Linked DNA regions of Homo sapiens: region 1 is linked to region 2. Evidence: promoter capture Hi-C in human tissues and cell types (Jung and others, 2019). All regions are on one chromosome and are shown on one strand. The core of a region is centred on a gene start or on the middle of the fragment in contact, and the rest is flanking DNA. Distances in the headings are between cores, read along the strand shown. Region 1 holds the start of EGFL7 (EGF like domain multiple 7). Region 2 holds the start of SNAPC4 (small nuclear RNA activating complex polypeptide 4).

Region 1 (5,452 bases), core at 251-2,750, 260 kb after region 2:
GGGTGGCCTAGTGTGGAGGAGGTGGGGAAATGGGGTTCTGCCTATCTGCTCCAACCTCAGGGCAGGGGCCACCTCTGGAAAGAGGCCCCTCCCGCTCAGACCAGCGGTGCCTGGGTGCCAGGAGCGCCCCCTTAAACCAGCTCAGTGACCATGAAGCAGGTGCAGAAACAGGCCCGGAGAAGAGTGAGGTCCTGCCTGGCTGAGGCCCTGAGCCCTGACCACAGCCTGGCGCCCAGAGCAGACCCTTCCCCTGGCCGTGGGTAGAGGGGAGCTGGTTCCTGCTTGAGGGGGAGGCGCATCGCGTGTGGGTGAGGTTTCCACCTGCCCTCCAAAGTCCCGTGGGGAATTTCCCCAGCTGCCCCAGCCTCCCTTGGCTCAAGTTGCCCAGCTGAGTGGGGCTGGAGAGGTGGGGGCACACTGACCGCCCAGGGCCAGGGAAATGGGGGTGTCCCAGGCATCAGGCCGACAGGGGCTGACCCCAAAGCAGGGCTCACACCCCACGGACAGCGGGGTTGGGAGAGGCCCTGCTCTCCTGGGGTTCCAGGCGTGCCCTCCAAAGCCACCCAGCTCCCTTCGGCACCGTGTCCCCTCCCACCCAGCCCACCTTTGCCACAGTGGCTCGCTCGGCCTGAGGCTCCCACTGCCGTGTGAACAGGGAAGATGAGGGTCAGACCTGGAGGCTGGGACGCCGGGAATCTGACAGAGCACCCCCTGTGATCACCCACAGTGTCCCGCATCCCTCCCCACACCCCCGGCCGCAGCCTGCTGCCAGCCCAGAGCACCCCTGTGAAGTGGGGCTGAGGGCATTGGGCCTGCTTGCCCATCTCCAGGGCAGGGGCTCACAGCCTCACTGGCAGCTCTTTTAGGGGAGAGAGCTTGGACTCCATGCTTGTCCCCTCCCGTCACCCCCTCACCATGGGCCTCAGGGACCCACGGAACAGGCTGTTCTCGGACCGCTCAGCCTGTCTTGCCACCCCAGTCCCTTCCTGCCGGGCCTCGCCACTCGCCATCCCTCACTGGTCAAGGCTCCTGTGTGGCTGGTCCCTGCCTTGGCCTGGGGCCCCTCCAAGCTCCCGTGCTGTGTCACACACATCTGGGGGTGTCCTGGGGGAGGGCCCAGCATCCTTGGCCCAAAGATGCAGCAGCTCCCTTCTGTCCAGCCACACGTGAGCATGGCCTGTGAACCCACGGTCCTGGGAGGGCCCTGGGCTTGCGTCCTCCACCCCACACTCTCCCCAGGGTCTCCAGCAGGGTCCAGCCCTGGTTTCTGGCTGTTTTGGGGCTAGACTCTGATGGCCCAGGGGACGGCTTCCCCACCCCTGGGCAGTTTGTCCAGGCCCCCTCACACGGTGGCCCCCACCCCCCTCAGCCTCCTGTTTGTCCGACGACACGTCCCCGTTATCAGCGGAGAACACACACAGGAAGTCCGGCTGGGAAGGGCCCATCCCAATCCCGATTACCCAGGACGGAGCATAAAAAGCCGCCCTTCCTCGCCCGGGGGGAGCCTCCCTGCACCAAGCTGGCCCTGCACGGCTGCAAGGGAGGCTCCTGTGGACAGGCCAGGCAGGTGGGCCTCAGGAGGTGCCTCCAGGCGGCCAGTGGGCCTGAGGCCCCAGCAAGGGCTAGGGTCCATCTCCAGTCCCAGGACACAGCAGCGGCCACCATGGCCACGCCTGGGCTCCAGCAGCATCAGGTATGGCAGGGGTGGCCTCGGAGGGGCAGGGAGCGGACAGGGCGGGCCCCCCATTCCCCTCACTCCCGCTGACCGTGGCGCCTGCTGGCTGCTCCGCAATCTGCTCCCCAGCGAGGTCACAGGGGAGGGGTCCCAGTCTCCTCCCCTTCTGCACAGAGGAGGCCACTGAGGCCCCTTGGCCAAACGCCTGCTAGTGGGTGGCCCAGCGTAGATCCCAATCCAGTCTGCTGACTCCAACACTTCACCCCCAGTCGCCCTTCCCCTGAACCCCACCCTCTGGCCTTTCTCTCCCTCCGCAGAGCAGCCCCTGTGGTTGGCAGCAAAGTTCAGCTTGGCTGGGCCCGCTGTGAGGGGCTTCGCGCTACGCCCTGCGGTGTCCCGAGGGCTGAGGTCTCCTCATCTTCTCCCTAGCAGTGGATGAGCAACCCAACGGGGGCCCGGGGAGGGGAACTGGCCCCGAGGGAGAGGAACCCCAAAGCCACATCTGTAGCCAGGATGAGCAGTGTGAATCCAGGGTGCGGGACGTGGGGCTCGGGCTTAGGGATGACTTGCTGGGTGCGGTGGGCAAATGGGTGACTCTGTGGGCCCCCCTTGGACCCTGGAGACGCCCTTGTTCTCCCTCTCCCCAGCCTCATGCAGAGTGGCTGAAGCCCCATCCCAAAGCCCCCAAAACCACAGTGGGTCCTAGAAGGCCCCACTTTTTGTCTCATACGTCCACACCAAGAAGCCTGTCTGAGAACCCCCACTTTCCAAATGGTGCCTAGCCAGGATGGGGGCAGCGAGGGCTGAGTCGGGGCAGCCCTGGAGCTGCCCTTTCTGCTCCATCGCCTCTTCCAGACTCAGGCAGGAGAGGTGGGGAGGCAGGTCAAAGGGTTAAGTGACCGCAGATCCAGAGATGAGGCCAGGGGCAGGGGACAGGGAGGGTGGCGGTGGCTCTCCCACCCAGAGGCCCCCTAGGCCCCACTCTGAACACTTCACTGCTGGGGGCTAGGTAAGAGCTGCCCTGCGTGGGCTCAGGGCGCCAGGAGGCCTAGGACTCCCCAGTCAGATGAGGAACGCCCCCTGACAGCAGCTGCTCTGGTCGTCCCTTGGACCACGTGCCAGGGGCTTCCAGGGCCCCTGGTCCAGAGCAGTGGCCACTGGATTGCAGGGTGGGGCGGCCTCATTTTGGGGACTCCTCTCCAGGGACCTGGGCCCCTCCCTTCCTCCAGCTCCCATGCACCAAGGTAGGACCAAGCTGGTGGCCCTCTCGGACCCATCTGCAGGCCCCTTGCCCAGCACCCTGGGTTACATGGAGAGACCTCCAGCTCCACTCACAGCAGCCTCCCATCCCCATGCCAGGGAGTCCAGGGCTGGAGGCAATAACCCCATTTTACTGAGGCCAGGGGCTGCGGATCCGAGAGGACAATCAGCTCAGGACAGGATGGGGTCGGGGTAGGTGCAGGACAGGGGCCTGTAGGCCTAGTGCAGGCGGAGGTCCCACAGCAGCACCGAAAGCTGGTCCCGGGCCCCTTCCCAGCCCCCAGACATCAGGGTGACCAGGACTGTGCATAGGCACTAACCCACAACTCCTCTCCAACCAGCAGCCCCCAGGACCGGGGAGGCACAGGTGGCCCCCACCACCCGGAGGAGCAGCTCCTGCCCCTGTCCGGGGGATGACTGATTCTCCTCCGCCAGGTGAGTCCCAGCAAACCCCTTGCTCCGAGGGAACACTTCTCACACCGGCGCCCACGCGGGTTATGACACAGGGCGCTGGCTCCGGCTGGGGTCTGAGGGGCTGCTGAATTGGGCTGGCCCGAGCCCCACGTGCCGCGCCCGCAGTAACAGCTGTAACAATTGTTGTGTGGCCACGACCTCACCGTCACTAGATCCCAGGGCTGTTTAGCCCCATCTTATAAATTTGGAAATGGAGGCCTGGAGAAGAGAGGTGACCAGCCCAGGGACCTCTGGTGTGAGGAGACTCTCTGGGGGCCTGTGGATTCGCTGGGAGGAGTGTTCTGCGATGGCCCTGACTGTGCTGAACTCAGCAGTGACCCAGTGACCCCGGTGAGGGTGCCTGATGCCTGAGAGAGGGCCAGGTGGGGGCCGGCGCAGGGGCCCCCAACCTAACACGCTAAGGCTAGGAGGCAGGCCTGGGCTCTGCCATGTGGTCTCAGAGGAGATCTGGGTCTCTGGGCCTGCGGTGGGGACGGTCATGATGCCCACTGCCTGCGAGGCTGCAGGACCCAGCTCAGTGCTAACCTGCGCCGGGCGCCTACCGCGCGGCCCCCCAGCGGCTGAGATGGGCGTCCCGGGGTGGTTTTCAGCCTGGGGGGCTTGAAAGCTAGCAAAGGGCCCGCAGCCCCGTCAGTGTGGGCGCCCTGGGCGGCCTCTCCTGGCTCCTGGCGGCCGGGCTTGGTCGTGCGTCCCCAGCGACCGCGCAGCGAGCGCCCTGCCGCGGGGACTCGGGCCCCAGGATTCCCGGAGGGGGTGCTGGCGGGCCGCGGCTCAGAGGCGCGTTTGCGTCAGCCCCGGGTTCCAGCAGAGTCACTGCCCGCCCGGGGGCAGCTCGTCCGCCGCGGGGCCTCAGTTTCCCCGTCTGCGCAATGGGGGCGGGGCGGGGCCGCCAGGTGGGGCGGGGCCGGGGGCGGGGCGGGGCGGGGCTCGGGGCCCCCACGGCGCGGGCTCGGGCGGCAGTGGCGGCGGCGCGTGCGCGCCCCGGATCCGGCGGTGAGTGCGGAGCGAGCGGGGCGCGCCGGGGTCGGGGTCCGGTCGCCGCCCGGGCTGGGTCGAGGGCGGGACCCGCGGAGCCCCCGGGGGCGGGGAACCTGGCCGCGCGCGGAGCTGGGGGCGGCTCCGGGACGAGGCAGCGCGACCGCTGGGGCCGGGGGCGGAGCGGGCCGGGGCGCCCGCGGCTGGGTCGGGCCGGGCCGGGAGAATGGGCCCAGCGGCCCCGGGAACCGGCTCCCCCTGCCGGCGGCGGGCGGGCGGGCGGCGCGGCGGGGAGGGCCGGGGTCGCCGCGGCCCCTCGTCCGACCCGGCGCGACTCAGCGCCTCGGGGCCCAGCCTGTGCCGCCTGCTCCGCCCCCCGCGAACCCCGGAGCCAGCAGCGCGGCTGGGAGGGGGCGGCGGGCAGGTCCGTCTCGCTCCGCCTCTGCGCCCTCCCTCGTGGGCCCCGCGGTCCCCAGCCCTGCTCCCGCCGCGAGGGGTCCGCCAGTGCCTGCGGCGCAGCCAGGCCCCTCCCTCTGCGGACCCGGCCTCTCGCGGGTGGGGGCTGCGGGGCTGCTGCCGGGCAGGTGGGGAGGGAGCCCGTGGGCGCTGGGGGCACGGGGACCGGACTGCTGGTCCACCTGGCGCCGCCGCCCCCTCCCCGCCCGGCACCCCTGGGTCGAGGCCGTGGCCCCCCCCGGGGAAATGGGGCTTGCAGCACCGGCTCGGAGAGCACCACGGGCTTCCTCTGGCCTCGGGAAAACATGACTTTCAAAAATTGAGTCTCCACTTAGCACCGCTTCCTGTCCAGGCGACTCTCAGGAATTGTGGGGGGGAGCTGTGCCAATATGTGTGGGGGGCAATGAGGTCTGGGAGATTCGCCTACCCCCAGGCCCGCCCTGGCATCCCCCTGCCCACATCAAGCCGCCGGGCCGCTGCCCTACCTCTTCCTTCCCGGGTCCCACTCCCCAATGTCCCCCGACTTCGAGTCTTGCCTTGAGGTCGCACCAGACCCAGCCCCTAACAGTGTCCTTCATCCAGGGCCCATCCCCAGAGTTAATCTCCAGCCAG
Region 2 (5,060 bases), core at 1,291-3,790:
GGAGCACGTGGGGAGGGGAGCACGTGGGGAGGGGAGCACGTGGGGAGGGGAGCACGTGGGGTGGGGAGCACGTGGGGTGGGGAGCACGTGGGGAGGAGAGCACTTGGGGTGGGGAGCACGTGGGGAGGGGCACATGTGAGAAGAAGAGATCCTAGGGGTGTGAGCTGTGTTGACCATCCAGGCATGGACTGTCCAGACTGCCATCTGGTGAGGTTCAGGCCTGCCCCCTCCTCCCAGGATGGTCCACTCCAGAAGCCCTGCACAGGCCCAAGGAGGCCAGGCCCAGACCCTGGGATGCCTAGAGCCCAGTGTACACACACAGCCAGCTGGTTCAGGGGCTAGCAAAGGAGGAATTGTCAGAAGCTCTCTGGCTGGAGTACAGAAAGACACCAGTGTTGGCAAAAAATTGGGTCTGGTCCAAGCAGCACCAGCCATCGTTTATTATTATTATTATTATTTTTAGAGACAGGGTCTTGCTGCGTTGTCCAGGCTGGACATGAACTCCTGGGATCAAACAATGCTCTCACCTCAGCCTCAGGAGTCCCTGGGTTTACAGGCCTGAGAAACCACACCCGGCTACCATCACTCCCTAATGTGCCTGAGAGGAACCCAGGAGGCAGACCAGCTGTTCTTACCAGGACCCCAGGAGGCTAGGTACAAGGGGCTTACCTGCTTCAGAATCTGACTCGAGACTTGATTCTGAGATCTCCACGTGGGAGCCCGAGGAGCCGGGATCCAAAATCCTTTCCAGCTCCTTGATCTCCTGTGTTATCTTCTCTCTTTCAGCATCTACATCCATGACTCCCGCCTGCCTCCAAAACACACCCCGAGATGTTAGAAACCAAGACCGTGCCGGGATCCCATTCTCCTTCAGACACACCCGCCCATGGGGGATGGCAGGAGCCTGCTCGGCAGTGGGCACTGGGCTCCCCAGAGAAAGATTAATAGGCCAGGCACAGAATCGGGGAACCCTGGGACAGGAACCTCAGACCCCACAAACTCCTGCTATGTGCTCTGCCAGGAGCCTAAGCCCCAAGAACATCTCCCGCCTGCTCTGAGGCTGCAACCAGCACAGGCAGGGAGTGGATGAACAAGGACAGGCCCCACTGTCCCGTCTCTGCTCCCACACCAAGCCACATGGAAACTGGCCACCCAGCGTAGAAGGTGTGGGGTGCAGTGGCAAAGTCACTACAGGGCAAGGACACAGCCCGTGACCCACTTTGGCCATCCTGCTCTCCCATGACACAGAGCCGGACCACAGAGGGCATTTGAGAAACGTTCACAGAGACACACACTGAGACTGCCCAGGTGGCAGGCACTAACAGCATGGTTGGGAAGGAAGCTCCCAAAGGGAAGGCTGGCTGTTCTCTGTACATCCAGAACAACGCCTGGAACGTGGCAGTGCCTGACACTAACAAATGTTTGTCAAGCTTTTTTCTTAGGAACTGTGGTCCAGGAAGTCTGAAGGGAGAAGGACGCTAGAGAGAGAGTGGGAGAATGAAACATTAGCAGAGAAAATCTAAAGGAATCACTAGCACAGACCCGGGAGCCCAAAACACCCAACAACAAAGAGAAACGCCCTCCCCCGTCCTTGGCGTGGCTCTCCCTGCTGGAGGCTGACTGGGGCCCTGCCCAACTGGAACAAAACCAAAGCATCCACCCGCGAGCACCGTTAGCCGCATCAGCAGCCCAGGTCCCCTCACTCCTTCACAAAGCCCCTTGTTTATGCCCGAAATGCTTGTGAACCTGTAAACTCAGTTAACAGCCGGCCAGAGGCAGAGCTGGCAGCGACCGCAGGCTGGTTCAGCGCCTCCGGGCCGGCGGAGACGCTTTCCTCTGGAAGCCTCACACGAGGCTGCTGCCTCCCCCTCCCCGTGTCGCTCAGGTGAGCAATGATCAGCAGGAAGGAGGTCAAAGTCACACGTGCTGAGCCACTGACATCAGGGGCTGTCCCTCTCCCCGCACCCCTCTCCCAAGGGCTGGTCATGAGGGCTGCCCACCAAGACGGAGCGCAGCAGGCGGTCCCTCCAGCCCCAGCTGCGGGGACGCCACCCAGACTCGGCTGGGCCCAGGGAACCCCAGGATGCGCCAGGACGATGGGCGTTTAGGCACTGGCTTGGGAGACAGACCCGGCCCAGGCCCAGTTCCGCCTCCTGCTCGCTGCGTGAACTGGGGAAACCCCCTCCGAGGCTCGGCCACCGCGGAATCGCCGGCGCAGTCCCCGAGACGCACGCGGGCGCCCTGCAGCCGGGGCCGCCCCGCCGGAGCCTCCTCGGAGCCCGCAGCCCGCTCCCAGCCGAGGGGCTCCCAGGGCCAGAATCCCCGCGCGCCCAGGCTCGGCCGGACGGGGGCCACGCCGGGCCTCAGTTTCCCCGACTTTGGGCGCTGCCCCGCCCCCGTCCCGGGCCTCGGCTATCCGCTCCTCGGGACAGCGCCCCCTCCACGGGGAGAGCCCTGAAGCTGCCGACGCCACCCGCGCCTCACCTGCTGGGCGCACACCTTACCTGGCCGCGCGGACCCCGCCGTCGCCCGGGCGACTGCAGACTCGACGCTTCCGGCGGCTGCAGAACAAGAGCGCCGCGCGCCGGAAGTCCCGCCTCCTGAGGCGCGGGGCACGCCGGGACGGCCGCTGCGGCCTGCCGGGACTAGAGAGGCGAACGGCTCGATGCTGCCCTCGCGCGGCCGCCCTGGGGGCCGCCTCCGCGCGCTCTGGAGGGGCGCGGGTGGACGCGGGACCTCAAGGCAGGGGACAGACAGGGACAGGCACCCGGCCACCTGGTCACGATCCGGAAGACCGGCCCTTACTGGCTGTGACCTTCGGCCATCGCTGGACCTCTCTGTGCTTGTTTCATCCTCTGTTAACGGACATGTTGGGGTTTGGTTAAGCAACGGATGAGAAAGTCTACGTGAAAGGCTTTTTCCCCAGCCTGCCCTGCATGCTCAGGATCGCCGAGGCCAGGCCGATCTCCAGGCACGTGCAGGAGACTGAGGCCAGAGGGTGGGGGCCCGCACCACACAAACTCGCTTCCCTGGTCACCTGTGCACACCCTCTGGGGTCTCCTGGCCTGGAGAGCTGCCCCGGGGCCCTCCCCTAAGTGGGCATTCATTCCTTCAGGAACGTGCCAGGGCTAACTCGGCCGGGAGCTGGGCAGGGGCCTACAGTTCCTGGCTCCTGAGAGCTTCTAAGTATCGGTGCTGCAAAGACATCCTGGGCCCAGCCAGTTGAGGGGGCCTCCACTCCAGCCTGGGGTGAGCTAGGGGCATCAGCTGGAGAACTATAAAGAGGGTTTGCCCTGCCTACCTAGGAGGTGGGCTTTTGGTGGCAAAGGGCTAGGCCCAGGTGAGGCCAAACTGGGAGCTAGGGATTGGCAAGAAACAGATGGAGGGGATGGAACCAGGCGGCTGGGGGCTCCTCGAGCGCCTCGTTTCAGTCCCTGCATCGGGCTTGAAATCTGGAGGCAGAAGGCAGGCACTAAATACCGCGCCACAAATTGTATTTTTAAACTTCTTACTATCAAACGCTTCAAACACAGACATCAAAAGAGAGGGGTGCGCAAAACCCACATGCCCATCCCCACCGCGCTTCCCTGGGCCCCACCTGCTCCATGAGCTGCTGGCATGAGGGCCAGGGGACCACCCCACTTCACACGCATCTGGTGGATGGGACCCGCCTGGCGATCTGGCCTTTGTGACCCCCACCCCATCAAATGCTGTCTCTCCCAAAGGGCCTCAGGGAAGGCCTGTGGCCTGAGGCATCCTCCCCAGATGCCCCCATCCTGCTGCTACAGGGCTCCCAGAGCTGCCTATACACTCAGAACCTCATTCCGGCACTTCCCAACCACAGCACCCTGTCTCAAGTCAGCTCTGCCAACAGAATCCAGAGCCTGCTTTCACCAACCAGCAGGAGCAGGAGGCGCATAGGGCTACGCAGCAGGACCGCTCCACAGTGACTGCTGGAAAGCTCTGGCCTTCACCTGTAGCTAAGGCTAGGGGTCTAGCAATTCAGACGCCTTGTTTGAAAAATTCAACCACATGATCCGAAAAGATGATCCAATGCTAGAATCCAGTCTGTCCAGCTCTGAAACGTGCAGCTGCGTGACTCACACGTCCATCACGTGTGGGTCCCAGTGGTCAGGCCCAGGCAGCAGTGGTCTGAGTCTGCCCCTAACCCCAAGGGCTGAGGACCTGGAGAGAATCTGCCAGCACAAGGCACCAGTTAGGGCAAGAGCAAGTGAGGTGTGGAAGCCCACGGCGTTCTCCAAGGACTGGCTAAGTCAGCAGAGAAGAGACAGTGCGGTGAACTACAGAATTTATTAAATAAGAAAGCTATCAATTGGAACAGGAGGAAAAAAAAGTTTTAAAAAAAATCTATAGGAAAATAGTCAAAAAAGCATTTAGTGCTCATCGCCGTCCCTCTGAGGGGGGCCGTCAGAAAGGCAACTGGGACCTGACAGACCCGGGCACATACTTGAAATTCCTGAATTCTAACCTGCATTGTACAAAATGCCACTTGAAACGTCCACCAGAACCCCCAGCCAAAGAGGCACATCTGGACAGCTTCACAGCACGGAACGTGTGACCTTGGTCCCCGTGGGTCCCGGAGGAGGACAGCAGCAGCCACGCGGTGGCCCCTGCGCACTCAGGCCATGACTGCAGGGACCACCCACTGGGGCCACAAGAGTGACCCGGGAGCCAGAGGGAGCCCTGAGCATCGGCGGAAGGCACAGGTCCCTGCCCGGGGTGGCCATCTCAGAGGCACATTTAGTGTTTGTTCTACTTATGAAATCAAGGACAACCAATTGTACTTATCTTACAACTGATGTTCTGGGATGGGACTGGAAAACATTGATTCCAGAACCACTCTTTTTCTTAAAATCACTGGCTTTTATGACAATGTCTTCCAAGAGCTCATTAGAATCTATAAGATCGCAGGAATTTCGCCAAGAAGGGCTGCATAGAAACCACAGAGACAACTCGGCCAGGGCTGCTCCCATTGTGGTGGCCAAGAACTGGCTGAGGGCACGACACTGGACTCTTGCGATCAACACTTTACTCTGGGT

The links. Contacts are between HindIII fragments. The study calls those that stand out against the background at their distance.
Region 1: a contact is called between the fragment with the promoter of EGFL7 here and the fragment with the promoter of SNAPC4 in region 2, in 1 of the 25 tissues and cell types used here (mesendoderm cells).

What each region holds. Positions count from the first base shown.
Region 1 is chr9:136,661,416-136,666,867 of GRCh38, forward strand. It overlaps EGFL7 (EGF like domain multiple 7), which reads left to right and starts at 1,501. Exons shown (of 11, transcript NM_016215.5): 1 at 1,501-1,693; 2 at 1,993-2,208; 3 at 3,277-3,370. The HindIII fragment of the contact is 17,984 bases long and covers 1-5,452 here.
Region 2 is chr9:136,397,630-136,402,689 of GRCh38, forward strand. It overlaps SNAPC4 (small nuclear RNA activating complex polypeptide 4), which reads right to left and starts at 2,541. Exons shown (of 24, transcript NM_003086.4): 1 at 2,505-2,541; 2 at 670-808. The coding sequence starts at 799. It overlaps ENTR1 (endosome associated trafficking regulator 1), which reads right to left. Exons shown (of 10, transcript NM_001039707.2): 10 at 4,293-5,060. RefSeq lists enhancers at 1-1,024, 2,754-3,690 and silencers at 2,199-2,308, 2,379-2,508, 2,579-2,788, 2,939-2,988. The HindIII fragment of the contact is 18,374 bases long and covers 1-4,848 here.